Linked DNA regions of Homo sapiens: regions 2 and 3 are each linked to region 1. The links are contacts of gene promoters, found by promoter capture Hi-C in human tissues and cell types (Jung and others, 2019). All regions are on one chromosome and are shown on one strand. Each heading gives the region's core, a stretch centred on a gene start or on the middle of the fragment in contact. The rest is flanking DNA. Distances are from core to core; before and after follow the strand shown.

The links. Contacts are between HindIII fragments. The study calls those that stand out against the background at their distance.
Region 2: a contact is called between a fragment that was not itself captured here and the fragment with the promoter of UQCC1 in region 1, in 2 of the 25 tissues and cell types used here (dorsolateral prefrontal cortex and psoas muscle).
Region 3: a contact is called between a fragment that was not itself captured here and the fragment with the promoter of UQCC1 in region 1, in 1 of the 25 tissues and cell types used here (IMR-90 fibroblasts).

Annotation. Positions count from the first base shown.
Region 1 is chr20:35,409,968-35,415,134 of GRCh38, forward strand. It overlaps UQCC1 (ubiquinol-cytochrome c reductase complex assembly factor 1), which reads right to left and starts at 2,006. Exons shown (of 10, transcript NM_018244.5): 1 at 1,973-2,006. The coding sequence starts at 1,996. RefSeq lists enhancers at 1,338-2,161, 1,752-1,851, 1,912-2,061, 2,162-2,984, 2,192-2,241. The HindIII fragment of the contact is 20,339 bases long and covers 1-5,167 here.
Region 2 is chr20:35,941,138-35,946,304 of GRCh38, forward strand. The region is part of intron 17 of PHF20 (PHD finger protein 20); the gene reads left to right. Among named protein-coding and RNA genes, the nearest start is that of SCAND1, 11 kb to the right of the region's middle. The HindIII fragment of the contact is 3,743 bases long and covers 953-4,695 here.
Region 3 is chr20:34,883,539-34,888,705 of GRCh38, forward strand. All of the region lies in intron 2 of ACSS2 (acyl-CoA synthetase short chain family member 2), which reads left to right. Among named protein-coding and RNA genes, the nearest start is that of ACSS2, 9.5 kb to the left of the region's middle. The HindIII fragment of the contact is 9,492 bases long and covers 1-5,167 here.

The sequences.
Region 1 (5,167 bases), core at 756-3,255:
GCTAATTTTTGTATTTTTAGTAGAGACAGGGTTTCACCACGTTGGCCAGGCTGGTCTTGAACTCCTGGCCTCAAGTGATCCACCTACCTCAGCCTCCCAATGTGCTGGGATTACAGGTGTGAGCCACGGCACCTGGCCAGGAATACCTCTCTGTGGTTCAGTTTTCTTATCTGTAAAATAGAGGAAATAACACGCCCTCCTTTCCAAAGGGATGTTATAAGGATTAGGTAAGTATTTTAAAGTGCTTAGCACGTAGTAAGTGCCCTATAAAATGATAGTTGTCAGGCCAGGCTCGGTGGCTCATGCCTGTTATCCCAGCACTTTGGGAGGCCGCAGGAGGCGGATCATGAGGTCAGGAGTTCGAGACCAGTCTGGCCAACATGGTGAAACTCCATCTCTACTAAAAATACAAAAGTTAGCCAGGTGTGGTGGCAGGCGCCTGTAATCCCAGCTACTTGGGAGGCTGAAGCAGGAGAACTGCTTGAACCCAGGAGGCAGAGGTTGCAGTGAGCCGAGATCACACCGCTGAACTCCACCCTGGGTGACAGAGCGAGACTCCATCTCAAAAAAAAAAAAAATACAAAAATTAGTCAGGTGTGGTGTGGTGCATGCCTGTCATCCCAGCTACTCGGGAGGCTGGCACAGGAGAATTGCTTGAACCCGGGAGCAGAAGTTGCAGTGAGCCCGAGATGGCACCACTGCACTCCAGCTTCGGCGACAGAGCAAGACTCTGCCTCAAAAAAAAAAAAAAAAAAAACAAAACCCTAAAGGGTGGCAGGGGAAGGATTAAAAAAAAAAAAAAAAAAAAAACCACTAAATTCAGAACATTCTAATTGCCATTTCCCCAGCAGTCCTCATTTCTGAATCAATTTCTGGCCTGAAATCAAACAATCACTTCACCAGGTGAATCTTTCTGGCAGTTACAGGGGCTACTCTACAAATAAATATTTACTGAACAGCAGTCGAGGGTACCTCACTCTGCTAGGCTGGCAAGGAATACAAGAAGTAAAACTGTCGTCCTTGTAAGACATATATAAAAAGATCAAAAACACAAATGTAAAATAACAATTCAGAAGTTACCTAGACACAGGAATAGACCATGTCTACTATGAAAAACAGTGTCTTTGACCCAGTTTTTGAAGACTCGCTAAAACTATACACTCTCCCATCCCTCCATGATTAAAAACTAAGCTCTGTATCCTAACGTTTTTTCTGCTGCCACTTTCTTTTCTCCTTTAATTGCTAGAGAAAAGAGTATGCTAGAAGGGTCAGGACTAAATCTCAAGAGGTGCAGTAGTTTCACACACGGGTGCTAAAGAGTCTGGTAGTCTTTCCTTACTTCATTCATTTATTCAACAAGTAATCATTTAACACCTATGATGTGCCAGACACCATGCTAGGCAAAGTGAAAACGACGGAGACAGACATGACTCCAATTCTCACGCAGCTTTCAATCTAATAATCTATATTCCACTTAACTGTACAGTTAAGAACTGACTTATTACCTATGAAAGAAACCCTGAGAATCTCAGAATCTAAAGGGACTGCAGGAGATAAATGTCCTCGTTTTTCACATAGGGTCAATGAGGCCCAAAAGTGACTTGCTTAAAGTCACTATGCATCAGTGACAGTCAGGGACTAGAACCCAGGCCTCCTGAAACTCCAATCAGTGTCCTACATGCTCCTCTCCCTGAGGGGAAGCAGGTACATGGGGGAGGGAAGGAAAAGTAAACCCCATCAAATAAAGGCCAGATGTCAGTCTTCCCCTTCTCGAAAGATGGGGGAGCTAAGGTCAAAACGGGGTAGGAAGAGGTCGGAAGCTGCCTCAGTTTCCCCACGGAAAAGCGGCCACTCAGCCTAGCTATAACACAGGCTTCCCTCCTGCGATTCCTTCCAATTCCTCCCGCCCTGCCTTGTCGAACTCCAACCCGGGACCCAGAGAGCTACCGTAGAAAATTACTCCTTCACTCACAAGGACTCGCACCAGCAACGCCATGTTCCTCAATAACCATTTCCGGGTGAAGAGTGAGTTTCCGGTGTCCCCTTTTCTACGTCCTCCTTTTGCCGGCGAAAGACTGGCAAGGGGGGCGCAGGCGCAAAGAGGTCGCTACGCGCACGCGCTGTTGTTTTCTCGGCTGTGCACCAGGCTGTCGTGCCCGGGCACGCTCTCCCTGCTGTCTCCCCCACTACACGTAACAGTGGTTCAAATCCTTCCCCCACGCCTGTCTCCTTGACCCCAGACCTCGGGGCTTCTCATATCCCTCTCTTTATTCCCCACCTAACCCAGCCTCACTCCTCAGCCCCTCCTTCCCAAACTCCACCCCAACACTTTTCAATGGAGGTTGAAAAGAACAGGACTTTAGGAAATCCCAATCTTTAGAAAGAGCCAGAAGACCGGGCGCGGTGGCTCACGCCTGTAATCCCAGCACTTTGGGAGGCCGAGGCGGGCGGATCACCTGAGATCAGGAGTTCGAGACTAGCCTGGCCAACATGGCAAAACCCCGTCCCTAACTAAAAATACAAAGAAAGTAGCCGGGCATGTTGGTGTGTGCCTGTAATCCCAGCTACTCTGAAGGCAGAGGTTGCAGTGAGCCGAGATCGCGCCACTGCACTCCAGCCTGGGCGACAGAGCAGGACTGGACTCTGTCTCAAAAAAAAAAAAAAAAAAAAAAAAAAAAAAGCCAGAGAAGGAGGCTAAGATAAAAGAATACGGGGGATACCAGACTCCTGAAAGTCAAGGCAAGAAGGCGGTCATGTGCCGATCTGAAGCCTGGTAGAGGAAGAAACTTTTGGGATTTGTGGTTGGTTGGTTGTTTAAGGGAAACATCTTTGCATATTGATAGGAAAAGATTAGTGAAGAGTATACAGGGCCGTGCCCGGTGGCTCATGCCTGTAATCCCAACACTTTGGGAGGCCGAGGCAGGTGGATTGCCTGAGGTCAGGAGTTCAAGACCAGCCTGACCAATATGGTGAAACCCCGTCTCTACTGAAAATACGAAAAAAATTAGCCGGGCATGGTGGCGTGTGCCTGTAATCCCAGCTACTTGGGAGGCTGAGGCAGGGAATCGCTTGAACCCGGGAGGCAGAGGTTGCAGTGAGCTGAGACTGGGGCACTGAACTCCAGCCTGGGTGACAAAGCGAGACTCCGTCTCAAAAAAAAAAAAAAAAAAAGAGTATACAGGAGAATCAATCAAAGAGGCAAGGAGCTTCTTGAGGAAAGTGGCAGAGAACGGCCTTGGTAGAAGACTCCTCTTCCATTACATCCCAAGAGAAGAGAAGACAAAGTACTGGTGCTTTGGGGGTTGAGGGAGCAGAGGGGCAGGATGTTGAAGGACTTCTTTCATTTCATTCAGTCAACAAAGACCTATTGAGTCTTCCCTATGTGCTGAACACAAGACATACTGGCTTCATGGAGTTCTTAGACTGGTGGGGGAGGCATAGGAACCCAGTGAAAAAAATTAAAACTGGGGAGCTACTTTGGTTAGGTTGGTAAGGCCTCTCCAAGAAAGTGACATGTAAGATGAAATCTAAAGGAAGAAGAGGAGCTAGTCATGGGAAATAACTTCACTCGACTATTTTTTTAATTAAATTTATTGATTTTTATTAATTGACAAAAAATATATATTGTGTACAACAGGATGTTTTCTTTTTTCTTTTTTTTTTTTTTTTTGAGACAGAGTTTCACTCTTGTCGCCCAGGCTGGAGTGCAGTGGCTCAATCTCGGCTCACTGCAACCTCCACCTCCCAAGTCAAGCGATTCTCCTGCCTCAGACTCCCAAGTAGCTGGGATTACAGATGCGCACCACCACGCCTGGCTAATTTTTGTGTTTTCAGTAGAGACGGGGTTTTGCCATTTCGGCTAGGACGGTCTCAAACTCCTAACCTCAGGTGATCCACCCACATCGGCCTCCGAAAGTGCTGGGATTACAAGAGTGAGCCACCGTGCCCCCGGCCAGGATGTTTTAAAATATGTATACATTGTGAAATGGCTAAGTCAAGCTAATTAATATATGCATTACCTCATATTTTTGTGCTGGAAATGTTTAAAATATGTTCTTTAAGCAATTTTCAAGAATACAATACATATTCATAGTGGGTATAGTCACCATGTTATACAATAGATCTTTTCTTTTTTTTTTTGAGACGGAGTTTCACTCTTGTTGCCCAGGCTGGAGCGCAATGGCGTGATCTTGGCTCACTGCAACCTCTGCCTCCCGGGTTCAAGTGATTCTCCTGCCTCAGCCTCCTGAGTAGCTGGGATTACAGGCATGCGCCACCACGCCCAGCTAATATTATATTTTAGTAGAGACGGGGTTTCTCCATGTTGGTCAGGCTGGTCTCGAACTCCCGACCTCAGGTGATCCGCCTGCCTTGGCCTCCCAAAGTGGCCTCCTGAACTTATCTCTCTTAACTGAAATTTTGTATCCTTTGACAAACATCTCCTCAGCCTCTAGTAACCACCATTCTACTCTCTACTTCTGTGTGTTCAACTTATATTCCACATATGAGAGAAATCAAGCAGTGTTTGTCTTTCTGTGCCTCATTTATTTCTCTTAACATAACATCCTCCCAGTTCATCCATGTTGTCATAGATATGAGCATTTCCTTCTTTTTTTTTTCCTTGAGACAGAGTCTTGCTCTTGTTGCCCAGGCTGGAGTGCAGTGGCACAATCTTGGCTCACTGCAACCTCTCCCTCCCGGGTTCAAGCAATTCTCCTGCCTCAGCCTCCCAAGTAGCCTGGACTACAGGCATGTGCCACCACACCCAGCTAATTTTTATTTTTAGTAGAGATGGGGTTTCTCCATGTTGGTCAGGCTGGTCTTGAGCTCCCGACCTCAGGTGATCTGCCCACCTTGGCTTCCCAAAGTGTTGGGATTACAGGTGTGAGCCACCGCACCTGGCCAGCATTTCCTTCTTCTTTTAGGCTGAATAGCATTCCATTATATATATAAATCACTTTTTTTTTTTTTTGAGACAGAGTCTTGCTCTGCCGCCCAGGGTGGAGTGCAGTGACACAATCCCAGCTCACTGCAGCCTGTACCTCCTGGGTTCAAGCAATTCTTGTGCCTCAGTCTCCCAAGTAGCTGGGACTACAGGCACGTGCCACCATGTCCGGCTAATTTTTGTATTTTTAGTAGAGACAGGGTTTCACCATGCTGGCCAGGC
Region 2 (5,167 bases), core at 1,574-4,073, 530 kb after region 1:
AGGGACCGCTGTACTCTTTGCTTCTCTTCTTTTCAGCCTCTCCCCACCTCCATTCTCCCCTCAGGATGGATGAGCCTTACTTTTAGTATTTATCAGGTGCAAGATCTGCATGATGTTGGGTCCTGCCTCACTTGTCTGATCCCTTCTGTAAAGTTGAGTATGCAGAGAGAGGGCAACTGGCAGTCCTGCTTGCAGGAAATATGTGATCTAAGCCAATCTTTACAAACAAGTTCTGTGAGAAATTAAAATTTTGACTTGAGTTTTAGGATATCTGAGGATTTAATCTGAAAAACCTCTTATTCCAATCTTTGATAAAATCTAAAATGAAGCTTTCTCCTCGTAAGCCAGTAGAGATTTGAGAATTTGCCTGAGTCATTTGTATAGCCCTGAGTATTCCTTCCAGATATTGGTGGTTACGGACAGGCCTGGAGGATCAAACCGGTGATGATGAACATGATCAAGTTCAGTCTCTCTCCAGGAAGTTGACGGTTTTGGTTGTTGAAATATTCCCTAATTATTTGTTTTCATGTTGAAAATGGAGCCCAGTTAAAAAAGAAATGTTGTTTGAGGATTCTGGGTACAGTCTGGCTATGATTTTTTACTGTAACTGGGAATATAAAACATACATGAAATAACTCAGGAGAAAATGCCATCTGTTATACAAGTGATGCCATGAGGTGTGGCCGGGACACATGTGGCTGATGTCAATGCAGAGGAGGAGAGTGCTAATAGGAGGGCTTCCTAAAACTCCTGAGACTGAAGTTGAGCTTTAAGGAGAGTGATGGTGTTTCCTACTGGAGAGGACTCAGGGTGGATGATCTGGCTAGACTGGAAAAAGAGTTGCCCTGTTGGAGGACAGTGAGAGAGACAGCAAGACCTAGGCTGGGTGTGGTGGCTCACACCTATAATCCCAGTACTTTGGGAGGTCAAGGTGGGAGGATTGCTTGAGGCCAGCCTGGGCATCACAGTCTCTACAAAAAAATAAAAAACTAGCCAAGTGTAGGGGTGTAGTCCCAGCTACTTGGGAGGCTGAGGCGGGAGGACTGCTTGAGCCCAGGAGTTGGAGGCTGCAGTGAGCTGTGATTATGTCACGGTACTCCAGCCTGTGTAACACAGACCCTGTCTCTAAAAAAATAAACTAAAAAAAAGGGATTGTAACTGATGCCACTGTCTGTGAAAAACATATTATTAGAGAGCTGAAGGAGGATATAATGTTAGACAAAAAAGTGTAGCTCTTGAGAGAATGGCAGTAGGAGTGGCTCTGTAGTCCCTGAAAAGAGGATTAGCACCATGGAAACAGGGTGAATGTTCGGTTGTTGCCACAGGGACCTTCCCTGAGGGAGAAGTTAAAGTCTACTCACATCTTACTTCCTTAATCCTCTCTTCAGCCAGGTTTGGCCTCTCTAGCCCTGCCGAATGGGCAGTGTGGCAAGGATGGTAGGCCTGAACCCCCTTCTTTGGCCTCACAGATGACCTCTTGTGTGTCTTGCTAATTCAGAGCCACATATTCTGTACATTTCTAAGACTCTAGGCCCTGAGAGAGATAACAAGAAAGCATTAAAATAAATGATAAAGCTTAAAGATTTTATTTAGGTAAACAGACTTTTGCATAGTATTTAAGATTAATCAAAATCCCTTTTTATGGAATCAACTCTTTATTTAAACACCAAGATAAACTAAGCTTTCTTTCTTTCTTTTTTTTTTGAGATGGAGTCTCGCTCTGTTGCCCGGGCTGGAGTGCAGTGGTGCCATCTCAGCTCACTGCAAGCTCCGCCTCCCGGGTTCACGCCATTCTCCTGCCTCAGCCTCCCGCGTAGCTGGGACTACAGGTGCCCGCCACCAGGCCCGGCTAATTTTTTATATTTTTAGTAGAGACAGGGTTTCACTGTGTTAGCCAGGATGGTCTCGATCTCCTGACCTCATGATCCGCCCACCTTGGCCTCCCAAAGTGCTGGGATTATAGACGTGAGCCACCGTACCCAGCCCTAAACTAAGCTTTCATAACCAAGTTTTAAAATAGGAATTTGGATGTAACATTCCTTTTTTAAAAAGCCGGCCTGCTTAGCTGGGTGTGGTGGTGCACACGTATAATCCTAGCTACTTGGGAGGCTGAAGCAGCAGAATCTAGGAGGCGGAGGTTGCAGTGAGCTGAGATCATATCACTGCACTCCAGACTGGGCAACAGAGTGAGACTCAGTCTGAAAATAAAAAATTTAAAAAAATTTAAAAGCTGACCTGGCGTGGTGGCTCACACTTGTAATCCCAGTGCTTTGGGAGGCCAAGGAGTTCAAGGTTACAGTGAGCTATGATCGTGTCACTGTACTCCAGCCTGGGTGACAGAGCAAGACCCCATTTCTTTAAAAAAAAAAAAAAAAAAGCCTAGTAAGCTATTATATGAAATATATATATATATATGCCATTGTTTTACAATTGGCCATTATTTAATTATTTATGTAGTTATATGAATAGTACTTTATTTATTTATTTATTTATTTATTTTTGAGACGGAGTCTCGGTCTGTTGCCCAGGCTGGAGTGCAGTGGCACGATCTCGGCTCACCACAACCTCCACCTCCTGGCTTCAAGCAATTCTCCTGCTTCAGCCTCCCGAGTAGCTGGGATTATAGGTGCACACCGCCATGCCTGGCTAATTTTTGTATTTTTAATAGAGACGGGGTTTCACTATGTTGGCCAGGCTGGTCTCGATCTCCTGACCTCATGATCTGCCTGCCTCGGGCTCCCAAAGTGCTGGGATTACAGGTGTGAGCCACTGCACCCAGCCTGAACAGTACTTTAAAACTAAAAGACAAAGGATATTTAATGACCATGAAAAGTAAAAAAGTCTTTTGGCATTAGAGAGATTATTTTCTTAAATAAAAAATGTTGCCTTGGTGAGCAGTGGTCTCTATACACATGATCTTAGTGTATTTGAACAGAATTTTTTCCTCTGTAACCTTCTGTCTTGCTAGCAACCACTATGCTAGTTGGAAGCTGTTCTGCATCTTTAAAAGAGACACTTGGGATGGTGCAGCACATGGTATGGAGAGGGTGGCCTGCTGGATGCTGGGGTCCAGAGGAGATGCTGTTGACTTCCCACAGTCCTGGCTTTGTTCTTCAGCCTAACAGACCTAGACAGACAGCTTCCATCTCAGGAACTCCACACACTCCTGTTAACCAAGCTCAGGCACTACTGAGTGGCTTAGACTCTTCCAGTCTGAGCGTTGGTGCGCTTTCACACTGTGCATGCCTCCTGGGCCACCGTAGTATCGGGATGTCTTTGGTGAGCCTGGAACTAGATCCAAGGTAGTTAGGGTGACCTTAAGAGGGGCCTCTCAGCAACTGTAGGATCATCTTGCAAAAGATTGACTGACTCTCTTTGCTGTTGGAGTGACCCATCCAGTCCTGACTGCCTTTTGTCCATTTATTTATTTTTATTTTATTTTATTTTTTTAAGACGGAGTCTTGCTCTTTCTCGCCCAGGCTGGAGTACAGTGGCATGATCTCGGCTTACTGAAGCCTCTGCCTCCCAGGTTTAAGCGACTCTTCCTTCCTCAGCCTCCCAAGTAGCAGGCAGATGCCTGCCACCACACCTGGCTGATTTTGTATTTTTAATAGAGATGGGGTTTCACCATGTTGGCCAGGCTTGTCTTGAATTTCTGACCTCAGGTGATCCACCTCCCTTGACCTCCCAAGGTGTTGGGATTACAGGCGTGCACGTCCGGCCTCTCCATTTATTCTTCTGCCTGTTTGCTGAACAGTCCCCTGTCTCCTTCTAGTTTTTTTTAAAGACTTACTGGTGTTTTGAAACTGGTCACTATCCAGTTTTCTTGCTCAGCAGGCCACTAGTTCCTCTCACATGACTGATCTTTTACTAATGGTTTTCAAGCTTAAGTCTGAGGAGGTGGTCTTATTTTTCTTATTTCCAAGTCCTTGTACTTGCTGGAATTAGGAAGAGAGAGGGTTCCTCCTTCTTGGAACCCCCAAATACCAACAAGAAATATGATGGAGGAGGATAAACTACATAGGGCCCAGAGCAATGGGTAGGGCGCTTTGCTGGACCACACATTCCTTCTCTCGCTGTGTTTGTTGCAGGCTTGCCACATTTCAGACACAGGTGAGTGTTAGGGATATAGTGGCAAGCAAGGCAGACTCAGCCTTTGCCCTCGTGGAACTTGATCTAGTGGGAGAGACATATATTAAACAAATCATCCCATTACCTGTAATGACAAACCATAGTAAATGCTCAAAGGAGAACATGTGATATCATAGCACCTGTAACACAAGGACCAGATTCAGGGTATAGGGTTGGGGAAGGCTTCCCTAAAGAATAGCTCACAAGAAACAGAGGATTTAGAAAGGTGGAGAGGAAGGTAGGGCTGCATCTGAGGACAGGAGAGGATTGCGCAGTAGGTTGCAGGCTGCTTGATGAAGAGGTACTGGGTGGGCCTTTCTTTTGCTGCACTCCAGGGTCCAGAAGGTGCTCAGTACAGGTTGGTGCATGGACTAGAAAGGCTACAGGCAGGCTGGGATAGCACAGGGGCTACCTGCAGGGGGTGGTTCTTGTCAAAGGTGCAGGGTTCCCAGATGGTCTCTCCCCAAATGCCAGAGCTTTAGGGGGTAGCTTAGGGAAGAACAAACATCTTTCTGTAGAGAAATACTTGTTCTCACAAGCAAGACAGCTTTCTAGATATTGAACCAATGATGATAATGTTAATTAATACCTGAAATCTTACATTAAATATTTAAAGGGGTCCTGCATGGTGGTTCATGCCTGTAATCCTAGCACTTTCAAAGTGGCCAAGGCAGGTGGATCACCTGAGGTCAGGAGTTCGAGGCCAGCCTGGCCAACATGATGAAACCCCATCTCTACTAAAAATAACAAAAATTAGCCAGGCGTGGTGGTGTGTGCCTGTAATACCATCTCCTCAGGAGGCTGAGGCAGGAGAATCGCCTGTACCCGGGAGGCGGAGGTTGCAGTGAGTCGAGATCATTGCCATTGTACTCCAGCCCAGGCAACAAGAGCGAAACTCTGTCTCAAAAGAAAAAAAAAGGCCAGGCCCAGTGGCTCATGCCTGTAATCCTAGCAGTTTGGGAGGCCGAGGTGGGTGGATCACCTGAGGTCAGGAGTTTGAGACCAAAATACAAAAATTCGCCGGGCGTGGTGGCAC
Region 3 (5,167 bases), core at 1,047-3,546, 530 kb before region 1:
GCAGTATAATTACAGAGCTTACACACAACCATGACACTCTATTATTCCTCTAATTCCTTACCTTGGCCTCTCAACAGGTTTGTAAAATAGGAATTCTTAGTTTCATTTTATAGGTGAACAAATGAAGCATTGAAGGGTTATGTAGTGAATAAGGTCATAGAGTGAATAAGTGGTAGAGCCAGGATTCAAATTCAAGTCTGCCTGACTCCTTGCTTGTACCACTAGGCCATGCAGCCTCCCCAGCAGGAAATTTCTAAGACTGCTTCTCCCAGGAATTTAGCTGTCTAGGAGATACTACTATACCGAATCCAAATAGGACTTAGAAATTCCAATAATTGGGGTGTTGCTTCTGCCACAATCTATGAGCACTCAGAGTTGATCTATTGTTTTTGTATTGTTTTGTTTTGTTTTGTTTTTTTGGAGACAGGATCTTGCTCTGTTGCCCAGCCTGGAGAGCAGCGGCATGATCTTGGCTTACTGCAACCTCTGCCCTGCCTCCCCTGCTCAAGCAATCCTGCCACCTCAGCCTCCTGAGTAGGTGGGACTACAGACATGCACCACCACGTTTGGCTAATTTTTGTATTTTGTATTTAGTATTTTTTGTAATGATGGGGTTTCACCATGTTGCCCAGGCTGTTCTCAAACTCCTGAACTCAAGCGATCCACCTGTCTTGGCCTCCCAAAGTGCTGGGATTAGTGTGAGCCACCATGTCTGGCCTGATTAATTATTTAAGCTAGCCAATAGGAGCAGCTTGGATGCTTCATGGGAGAGTTAAATTGAAACTCACTCAATATCTTTGCCCAGTTTGTGTGATATATTGAGAAGAGCCTTAACCTGAGAGACAAGAAATTTAGGTTCTCCTTTCAACTCTGCCATTAACATGTTATATAACCACAGACAAGGCATTTAACTAAGAGTCAGTTTCCTCTTCCATAAAATGGGGATAATAATTCTATCCTTGTTTTTCTCTCTAGATTGTTGTAAGAATCAAATGAGATAACGTTGTAAAAGCACTTATTTGTTTATTGGAAAACACTGTATAGGTGTGAGTGGTCTATTATTATACTACCATTGCTTAGTTGGGGGCCAGTTTGTCACTGAAATTCACTGTCCATTGTGTCTGTTGAGACTCTCTTTAGCTTCTGCTCTAGAGCTTTATGCTTGAGCTCCAGCCAACACTTGGGCTCATTTCCCAGGCTCTTTAAAGATCAGAAAACCTTTAAAGATCTTCAAAGGAGGCCGGGCATGGTGGCTCATGCCTGTAATCCCAGCACTTTGGGAGGCTGAGGCAAGAGGGTTGCTTGAGCTTAGGAGTTTGAGACCAGCCTGGGCAACACAGTGAGACCCCCATCTCTATTTCACAAAAAAGAAAGAAATAGGCTGGGCATGGTGCCTCATGCCTGTAATCCCAGCACTTTGGGAGACCAAGGCAGGTGGATTGCTTGAGCTCAAGAGTTCGAGACCAGCCTGGGCAACATGGCAAAACTCCCTCTCTACATAAAAGACAAAAATTAGCTGGGCATGGTGGTGCACGCCTGTAGTCCCACCTACTTGAAAGGCTGTGGTGGGAGGATTGCTTGAGCCCAGGAGGCGGAGGTTGCAGTGAGCACAGATCACACCACTGTACTCCAGCCTGGGCAACAGAGCAAGACCCTGTCTCAAAAAGTAATAGTAATAAAAATAAAATAAGAAAAATAAAAAGAGGAAAAAAAAGATCATAAAAGGAAATGCTTGTATCTGAATTTGTTCCCTGGTTTGAAAGAACTCAGGTGCCTAATGGAAAACAGAATACACAGGCCAGAGTTTTCAATCACTGGAGAGTTTTCCAGAATCCTGAGGCCCTTTCTTTCTAGAGACACCAGTTCCCCTACCACCCTTACCTGAACAGGCTCTGGAGAGCCTCTCTTTCCCCATCTGTAAAATGAGAGGAGTAGACTAGATCAGCATTTTCCAAAGAATGCTTCAGGAACTGCTAATTACTGGAGATATTAGTAGGGGGCTTCTTAATTCATAAAATGATTGAGTCTGAGAAACACTACATAATAAATTGCCTTTGTGTGAGATTCCCAATGTGTATTAGCATAGTAAAATCTCCAAGATGTCCTATATTAGAGATACCTGATTAATTTTGTTTAACATAGGATTTCCTGAATTTATTGAAGCCCCAAACACTTTTTGCCAGCATGCTATTGATATCACAAGAAGCAGTATTCCATGGAACACCCACTGGGGAAGCACTGGATTAAATAATCTCTAAATTTACTTCCAGTGCAAAATTCTGTAACTCAAAAACAAGACATCCTCACTCCATTTTTACATTGGTCACTCCCTCAACAAGAATTGTTAAAGATATTGGATACTCAGGGCTGCATTAGGCATTATGGATATGGGGGTAAAAAGGCAGGAGACAAGTACCATATAGGCAATTACTATTTAATTATTTTATGTTTATAGTAAAGCAAAAGCAAAATACAAATAAATTGCATTTTATTATAAGAAAGTAAAGTGCAAATATGCCGGATATGTGGTTACATCCCTTTGTTGCCTCTATATTTTTAAATGATATGCTTATACTGCTATTTTTCATCATTTTTAAAGAAAGTATTGATTTCTTACTACGATAGATAAGAATTTAGTTCTTATATACCTCTCTAACTTCCTTCTCTCTTCTTCTCAATATAATTATAGCTGTTTTCTAGTTAATTTAAAATCAGTTTACATAAGAATAGCATACTGTGGTTATATTTCCTTTTATGTACGGATTTTTATTTACTCTGAAGTTAATAATTGCTTACTGGGCTGGGTGCAGTGGCTTATACCTGTAATCCCAACACTTTGGGAAGCAGAGGCGGGCAGATCACCTGAGGTCAGGAGTTCTAGACAAGCCTGGCCAAAATAGTGAAACCTCATCTCTACTAAAAATACAAAAAAAAAATTAGCTGGGCATGGTAGTGCACACCTGCAGTCCCAGCTACTTGGGAGGCTGAGGCAGAAGAATCGCGTGAACCTGGGAGGCAGAGGTTGCAGTGAGCCAAGATCACACCACTGCCCTCCAGCCTGGGTGACAGAGCAAGACTCTGTCTCAAAAAACAATAAAAGTAATAATAATAATTGCTTACCGTTTTTCTTTTTGTACTATTTAAGCCTTTATCATATATTTAATATTTTCCAATCTCACTATCATATGAAATCCTCCTTTTCCTCCCAAAGTTCTCCCTCTTGGAGCTCACTTCTTTCTGTTCTAATTCTTACTAATGCTTTTAAAAATGACATCTTTTCTGTGATTCGCTCCAATTGATATACTTCTTATAGAAACACATTATGGCTTTCTTCTTAACTTTATGTCATTTAGACAGCTATGGTGGCATTAACAAGCCACATTTGTAGCTAGTTTCTTGTTTTGGAACATACATTGTGTAGTCATTGAAATTATCCACAAAGGAAATGGTGCTCTTAGGAAAGTACTCCCATTATCCAAAATAGAACCATATTAAGGAATAATTTGGCCTTTTACTTTTGGCTTGACACATTGCAAATGTTCACGGAATAGTAGTATTTTTAGAACTTGAAGTGACCGTTAGAGTCCATCTAGGCCAACTCTCTTCAAAGATTGGTAGATTAAGGGACAAAGAAGCTAAGTGATTTGCCTAAGGGTCATACACCTGTTTGAAGACAGAACTGAGACTAATCTCCAGATACTCTCACTCCTAGTCAACTATTTTTTTTCACTCGTGACACTACCTCATTATTCTAGTAGTCCAGCACTTGGCTGTGACAGATAAAAAGAGAAATTAGCCACATTAGCCAAACTGATTTAAATTAACTTTAAAATACCAGATAAAATGTGTTATTAGGTTTAAATGTCCCAGACCCTAGTCTCATGGAATTTACATTCTATTTGGAAAGACCAAATAGATTGGCCGGGCACAATGGCTCATGCCTGTAATCCCAGCACTTTGGGAAGCCAAGGCAGGTGGATCACCTGAGGTCAGGAGTTCGAGACCAGCCTGGCCAACATGGTGAAACCCTGTCTCTACTAAAAAATACAAAAATCAGCTGGATGTGGTGGCAGGTGCCTGTAATTGCAGCTACTTGGGAGGCTGAGGCAGGAGAATGGCTTGAACCCAGGAGGCAGAGGTTGTAGTGAGCCGAGATCGTGCCATTGCACTCCACCCTGGGCGACAAGAGCGAAACTCCATCTCAAAAACAAAATAAAACAAAACAAATAGATCTACATAAAAACAGCCTGGGCCAGGCATAGTGGCTCACGCCTGTAATCCCAACACTTTGGGAGGCTGAGGCGGGCGGATCACCTTAGGTCAGGAGTTCAAGATCAGCCTGGCCAACAAGACGAAACCCCATCTCTACTAAAAATACAAAAATAGCCAGGTGTGGTGGCGCACTCCTGTAATCCCAGCTACTTGGGAGGCTGAGACAGGAGAATTGCTTGAACCCAGGAGACAGAGGTTGCAGTGAGCCGAGATCAAGCCAATGTACTCCAGCCTGGGCAACAGAGCAAGACTCCATCAAAAAAAAAAAAAAAAAAAAAAGCCTGAAAAGAATTATGGGCCAAACTGCAAAGAGCTACTTACACAAATAGTTCACAGAAAGGAAAAAGCCTTATAGGGAGGCAGGATAATATAAAGATTAGGAGAATGGGTGTTTTGGTGTCAGACTAACCCAGTTTGAGTCCTATTTTTGCCACTAATTAGCTGTCTGATCTTGGGCAAGTTACTTAACCTCTTTGAGCCTCAGTTTTCTCAACTGTTAAACGTGGATAAAAATAGCTTTTATCTCATGGAGTTGTCAGTTTTGTAAGATTGAATAGGATAAAAAAAAACATGTCAAATTCCTGGCACATTGAATGCACTTAAATATTAGCCACCACAATTATTTATATTGGAACAGTGAGAAGACCAAGCATGTTTAGAGTAAAAGGTTTATGCAGGGAACAATTTATTCATTCAATAAATGCTTACTAAGAACTTATTAAGTGCCAGGCACTATTCTAAACAAAGTTCTTGCCCTCATGGAGGTTATAGTCCAGCTTGAGGAGACAGACAATAAACATAGAAACCAGTAAGTATATGACAGGTAGTGATGAGTACTATAGAAAAATATAGAGCAGAGTCAGGGGAAAGGGAAGTGACAGTGCAGAGTGGGAGC